Regions from separate parts of the Homo sapiens genome. Here region 2 is linked to region 1. The links are contacts of gene promoters, found by promoter capture Hi-C in blood cells and fetal thymus (Javierre and others, 2016). All regions are on one chromosome and are shown on one strand. The core of a region is centred on a gene start or on the middle of the fragment in contact, and the rest is flanking DNA. Distances in the headings are between cores, read along the strand shown.

The links. Contacts are between HindIII fragments. The CHiCAGO score rates a contact against its expected background, and 5 or more counts as called.
Region 2: a fragment that was not itself captured here is called in contact with the fragment with the promoter of INSL3 in region 1 in 1 of 17 cell types (M0 macrophages); the score reaches 5.4 in M0 macrophages.

The regions. Positions count from the first base shown.
Region 1 is chr19:17,820,269-17,823,543 of GRCh38, forward strand. It overlaps INSL3 (insulin like 3), which reads right to left and starts at 1,251. Exons shown (of 2, transcript NM_005543.4): 1 at 1,049-1,251. The coding sequence starts at 1,238. The HindIII fragment of the contact is 12,026 bases long and covers 1-3,275 here.
Region 2 is chr19:17,630,802-17,634,076 of GRCh38, forward strand. UNC13A (unc-13 homolog A) reads right to left here. Exons shown (of 44, transcript NM_001080421.3): 27 at 2,307-2,392; 28 at 1,981-2,107. Among named protein-coding and RNA genes, the nearest start is that of UNC13A, 56 kb to the right of the region's middle. The HindIII fragment of the contact is 8,105 bases long and covers 1-3,275 here.

The DNA.
Region 1 (3,275 bases), core at 1-2,500:
GCGAGGCTATGTCTCAAAATAAATAAATAAAAATAAAATAATAAAATAAAGTAACATAATTGTGAAAAGCAATACTTTTCAAAAGCAATACTTTTAAATACTTTTAAAGCTGGACACAGTGACTCACATCGCTAATCCCAACACTTTGGAAGGTCAAGGTGGGAGGATTACTTGAGCTCAGGAGTTTGAGACCAGCCTGGGAAACAGAGTGAGACTCCCTCTCTACGAAAAAGAAAAAAAAATTAGCTGGGTGTGGTGGCAGCACCTGTATCCCAGCCACTCCAGAGGCTGAGGCAGGAGGATGGTTTGAGCCCAGGAGGTTGAGCCTGCAGTGAGCCGAGATCTCACCACTGCACTCCAGCCTGGGCGTCAGAGTGAGACCCTGTCTCAAAAAACAAACAAACAAAGCAAAATTAAGGCAAAAATTCATGAAGATCAAAATATTGAAATTTTAAGACAGGATCTCACCATGTACTTGCAAGAGCCTACCTCTCCTGCCTCACTCTGTTTCTGGCCCCTCAGGGGGACTCATGCTCTGAGGACTTTCTTTTTTTTTTTTTTTTGAGACGGAGTTTCACTCTGTCGCCCAGGCTGGAGTGCAATGGCATGATATCGGCCCACTGCAACCTCTGCCTTCCGGGTTCAAGCGATTCTCCTGCCTTGGCCTCCCAAGTAGCTGGGATTACAGATGTGCATCATTATCCCCGGCTAATTTTTTTAAAAATTATTTTTAGTAGAGATGGGGTTTCACCATTTTGGCCAGGCTGGTCTCGAACTCCTGACCTCTGGGGATCCACCCGCCTCAGCCTCCCAAAGTGCTGGGATTGCAGGCGTGAGCCACCACGCCTGGCTAACGGCTCTGGGGACTTTCACACGCGCGTTCACACACACTCCAGTGCGGACCCACGATCTGTGCACGCAGCCGGCAGGTGAGCCCTGGGCACATGCATGCAAACCTGCCCACCTCCCTGCACGTGTGCATCTGCGCCTACGTGCACCTGCCCCACCTCGGCTTCCCAGAGCGCTGTCCCTGCCCGTCCCCACTCACGGTCGCCTCCGGTCGCAGGCCTCCTGGCTTCGGTGGACCAGCGGGGGCCCCCGCACACGCGCACTAGCGCGCGTACGAAGTGGTGGCCGCACAACTTCTCACGCATCTCTGGGGTGGGCGCGGGGCCCAACGCGAACACCAGGGCAGGGCCCAGCAGCACCAGCGCCCAGGCGGGCAGACGGGGGTCCATGGTGGTGGGTGGCGCCGGGGCCAAGCGGGGACCCCCTTTATAGGCGCCTGGGCCGTCCCAGCTGGGGGCCTTGGAGAAGGGACAGAACATTCTTCAGGACCGCCCAGGAAAAAGGTCAAGGGTGGGGTTAGTGCCAGAGCCTTTCTCCCAGGGCCAGGGCCTTGGATGTACTTCTCCCAGAGGGAGCACTGGGCAACGAGTCTTTCTTTTTTATTTTTTTCTTCTTTTTTTTTGAGATGGAGTCTCACTCTGTCACCCAGGTTGGAGTGCAGTGACTTGATCTCGGCTCACTGCAACTTCTGACACCCGGGTTCAAGCGATTCTCCTGCCTCAGCCTCCTGAGTAGCTGGGATTACAGGTGCGCACCACTATGCCTGGCTAATTTTTTTTTTTTTATTTTTTATTTTTAGTAGAGACTGGGGTTCGCCATGTTGGCCAGGCTGGTCTCCAACTCCTGACCTCAAGCGATCCATCTGCCTCGGCCTCCCAAAATGCTGGGATTACAGGCATGAGCTGTGCCTGGACTATTATTATTTTTATTATTATTATTGAGACAAAGTCTTGCTCTGTCTTCCAGGCTGGAGTGCAGTGATGCGATCTCGGCTCACTGCAACCTCCACCTCCTGGGTTCAAGTGATTCTCCCACCTCAGCCTCCCAAGTAGCTGGGATTACAGGTGTAAGCCACCACGCCCAGCCACCTATTTTTATTTTTTATTTTTGAGATGAGTTCTTGCTCTGTTACCCTGGCTGGAGTGCAGTGGCACGATATGGGCTCACTGCCACCTCCCTATCCCTGACTCAAGCAATTCTCCCACCTCAGCCTCCTGAGTAGCTGGGACTACAGGCCCACGCCACCACACCCGGCTAATTTTTTGTATTTTTTTTGTAGAGATGGGGTTTTGCCATGTTGCCCAGGCTGGTCTCAAACTCCTGGACTCAAGTCATCTTCCCGCCTCAGCCTCCCAAAGTCCTGGGATCACAGGCGAGAGCGACCACACCAGGGTATTTATTCATTTTTGACATAGGATCTCTCTGGGTTGGCCTGTAATGGCAGGATCATAGCTCACTGTAACCTCATTCCCCTGGGCTCAAGCGATCCTTCAGCCTCTGCCTCCTGAGTAGCTGGGACTACAGGCCTGCAATACAATGCCCAGCTAATTTTTAATTTTTTAATTTTTATTTTTATCTTTTTAGACAGAGTCTTACTCTGTCACCCAGGCTGGAGTACAGTGGTGCGATCTCGACTCACTGCAACCTTTGCTTCCTGGGTTCAAGCGATTCTCCTGCCTCAGCCTCCTGAGTAGCTGGGATTACAGGTGCCCACCACCAAGCCTGGCTAATTTTTGTATTTTTTAGCAGAGACGGGGTTTCACCATGTTGGCCAGGCTGATCTCAAACTCCTGACCTCAAGTGATCCACCCGCCTCGGCCTCCCAAAGTGCTGGGATTACAGGCGTGCACCAACGCGCCCGGCCATTTTTAATTTTTTAATTGTAGAGGCAGGGGTCTTGCTATGTTGCCCAGGCTCATCTAGAACTCAAGTGGTTCTCCCTACTCGGCCTTCCAAAATGCTGGGATTACAGGTGTGAGGCACCACACACGGCCAAGTCTTCGCTATTGTCTTAACCAGTTTAAAGAGATGAAATAGATCAACTGAAAAGTAATAATCCTGCCTTTTCTGGGGGGCAGGGGGGAAGACAGCGGGCATCTTCCAAGACCAGAAATGTTCAGAATTTTGTTGTTTCTATTACTGTACAAATGAGAAAACTGAGGCACACAGGCCAGGTGCAGTGGCTCATGCCTGTAATGCAAGCACTTTGGGAAGATGGGGCAGGTGGATCACTTGAGGTCAAGAGTTCGAGACCAGCCTGCCCAATATGGTGAAACTCTGTCTCTACTAAAAATACAAAAATTAGCCAGATGTGGTGGTGCATGCCTATAATCCCAGCTACTCGGGAGGCTGAGGCAGGAGAATCACTTGAACCCAGGAGGTGGAGATTGCAGTGAGCCGAGATGGTGCCGCTGCACACCAGCCTG
Region 2 (3,275 bases), core at 250-2,749, 190 kb before region 1:
TCTGCGCCGCCTGGTTCTGACCCACTAACGAGTGGAGCTATGGCTGCTCCTGCTCTGCCTGGAGCTCTCCCTGCAGCCTTGAGTGGCTGCTCCTCTGCTCGCCTCCTGCACTGAACCTCAGTTACTTTGCTCATGAAATAGATTGAGTGGCCCCTTTTACAACAGGGCCCAGGCCTGTGGGAATCCTAGTTCAGATAAGCTGCCCATGGCAAGTGGGTTTATTCTCTGAGTCCTCTCTGAGTCCTCCGTCCATCCTTCCCTCCCTCCCTCCCTCCTTCCTTCCTTCCTTCCTTCCTTCCTTCTTCAGATAAACTGCCCATGGCAAGTGGGTTTATTCTCTGAGCTCTTGTTTTCTCCCTCCCTCCCTCCCTCCCTCCTTTCCTTCCTTCCCTCCCTCCCTCCCTTCCTTCCTTCCTTCCTTCTTCCTTCCTTCCTTCCTTCCTGGGTCTTGTTCTGTTGCCCAGGCTAAAGTGCAGTGGTGCGATCACAGCTCACTGCAGCCTTGACCTGCTGGGTTCAAGCAATCCTCCCACCTCAGCTTCCCGAATAGCTGGCACTACAGGCACATGCCACCATGCCCGGCTAATTTTTTTTTTTGTCTTCTTTGTAGAGACAGGATTTCCCTGTGTTGCCCAGGCAGGCCTTGAACTCCTGGCCTCAAGTGATCCTCCCACCTTGGCCTCCCAAAATGTTGGGATTACAGGAATGAGCCACCGCATCCAGCCAGAGCTTTCGTTTCTTGTACAACAGAAGACTAGCCATCCTCCTGTGCTGCTGGGAGCAGAGAACGACACCACAATTCTCAGGAACCGGCGGCACCGTACTATCCTCCAACACACAGCCCAGGAATCAGATGTCCCGAGTTCAAATCTCGGGTCTGTCATGTACTGGGAGTCACCGTGGGCAAGGAATGTGGCATTTATTCACTCATTCATTTTATTTTTATATTTATTTATTTTTTGAAATGGAGTCTCACTCTGTCGCCCAGGCTGGAGTGCAGTGACACGATTTCCGCTTACTGCAACCTCTGCCTCCTGAGTTCAAGCGATCCTCCTGCTTCGGCCTCCCGAGTAGCTGGGACTACAGGTGTGTGCCATCACACCCGGATAATTTTTTTCTTTGTTTTTGAGACGGAGTCTCACTTTGTTGCCCCAGCTGGAATCCAGTGGTGCAATCTCGGCTCACTGCAACCTCCGCCTCCTGGGTTCAAGCAATTCTCATGCCTCAGCCTCCCAAGTAGCTGGGATTACAGGCATCTGCCACCACACCTGGCTAATTTTTGTATTTTTAGTAGAGACAGGGTCTCACCATGTTGGCCAGGCCGGTCTCAAACTCCTGACCTCTGGTGATCCACCCACCTTGGCCTCCCAAAGTGCTGAGATTACAGGCATGAGCCACTGCGCCCGGCCAATTTTTGTATTTTTGTAGAGCTGGGGTTTCGCCCTATTGGCTATGCTGGTCTCGAACTCCTGACCTCAGGTGATCTGCCCACTTCGGCCTCCCAAAGTCCTGGGATTACAGGCACAAGCCACTGTGCCTGACCCATTCATTAATTTTAGAGATGGGATCTGACTATCTTTTCCAGGCTGGTCTCGAACTCCTGGGCTCAAGCAAGTCCTGCCTCAGTCTCCCAGATTGCCGGGGCTACAGGCATGTGCCACCATGCCTGGCCATTTGGCATCTTTAACTCTCCAATTTCTCCTCCGCAAAATAGGAATTAAAATGATCCCACCTTAACTCATAGAATTGTCAAAAGGATAAAATGAGAAAGTCACATGGTTCCTGTTGCTGTTGACTGAATTTTCTGGGCTGTAGGAGTCAACTGCTCAATGGCTGAGAGTGGAGAACACTGGATTCAAGCCCCACCCATGCCCCTGATGCCCAGGTAACCCTAAGTAGGTCAGTCTTCCTCTCTGGCTTTCCTTCTAGCTGTCAGTGCTACAGTTCTGGCTTGGGTTGGGCCTGGGGCAGGGGACTTACGCAGGGTACTCAGGCACGCGGTCCTTGAAGGCGGGAAGTTCCGTCACATACTCATTGTAGAGCCATTTCACCTTGAAGTGGAGGTTCATGTAGTCGGCACTCTTGCATAGACGATGCTTGTCGTGCTCTGGCCAGGGACAAAGAGGATGGCACAGCTGGAAGGGTCTGCCACCCTCTGTCTCGGCAGAGAGGCTGCCTACTCTGGCCATCACTGATTTCCAACTCAGGCATGAGGGTATTATAGGGTGCTCACAGCCTTGGAGGGGACACAGAGGTACAGCCACCTGGTGTGGCCAGGCTGGGGAACACTGGGGTGGGAAACTCACCCTCCATGGCGTACTTCATGTCTTGGGCAAACAGATTCCACATCACTTCAGCGCTGATTTTACCCACATTCAGCTCCTGGGGAAACCTGGCAAAGTCATGGAAGTATAAAACTTTGGCAGGCAGAAGGCAGATGGGATGGGCTGCTTTGTCCTTCCCTGCCCCACAGAGGAGTGTAGGGTAGGGTAGAGGGATTTGGGTTCAGGTTCCCTCATAGCCACTGCTGACTGACTCTGCACTAAGGCTTTGTTTCCCTTTGAGCCTCCACCCACTCATCCATTTGTCCCTCCATTCATTCATTCATCCACTCATGCAACTATCCACCCATACATTCAACAACTCATTTATCTATTCCTCCATCCATTCATCCATCCTTCCATCCATTCATTCACCCACTCATGCAACTGTCCACCCATCCATGTACCCATCTATCTATTCATCCATCCACCCATTATCCACCCATCCAACCATCCCTTCATCAATTCATTCACCCACTCATGCAACTATCTATCCCTCCACCTACCCATCTATCTATTCATCCATCCACCCATCCATCCATCCCTCTATCCATTCATTCACCTACTTATGCAACTATCCACCCATTCATTCACCTATCCATCTATCTATTTATCCATCCATCCCTCCATCCACTCATTCACTCATTCATCCAACTATTCATCCATCCACTCAACCACCCATCTATCTGTTCATCCATCTATCCCTCTACCCATTCATCCAACTATCCATCCATCCACCTACCCATCTATCTATTCATCTATCCACCCATCCATCCATCCATCCCTCTTTCCATTCATTCACCTAATTATGCAACTATCCACCCATCCGTTCACCTATCCATCTATCTATTCATCTATCCATCCATCCCTCCATCCATTCATTTGCTCATTCATCCAACTATTCATCCATCCACTCAACCACTCATCTACCTGTTCATCCATCTATCCCTCCAC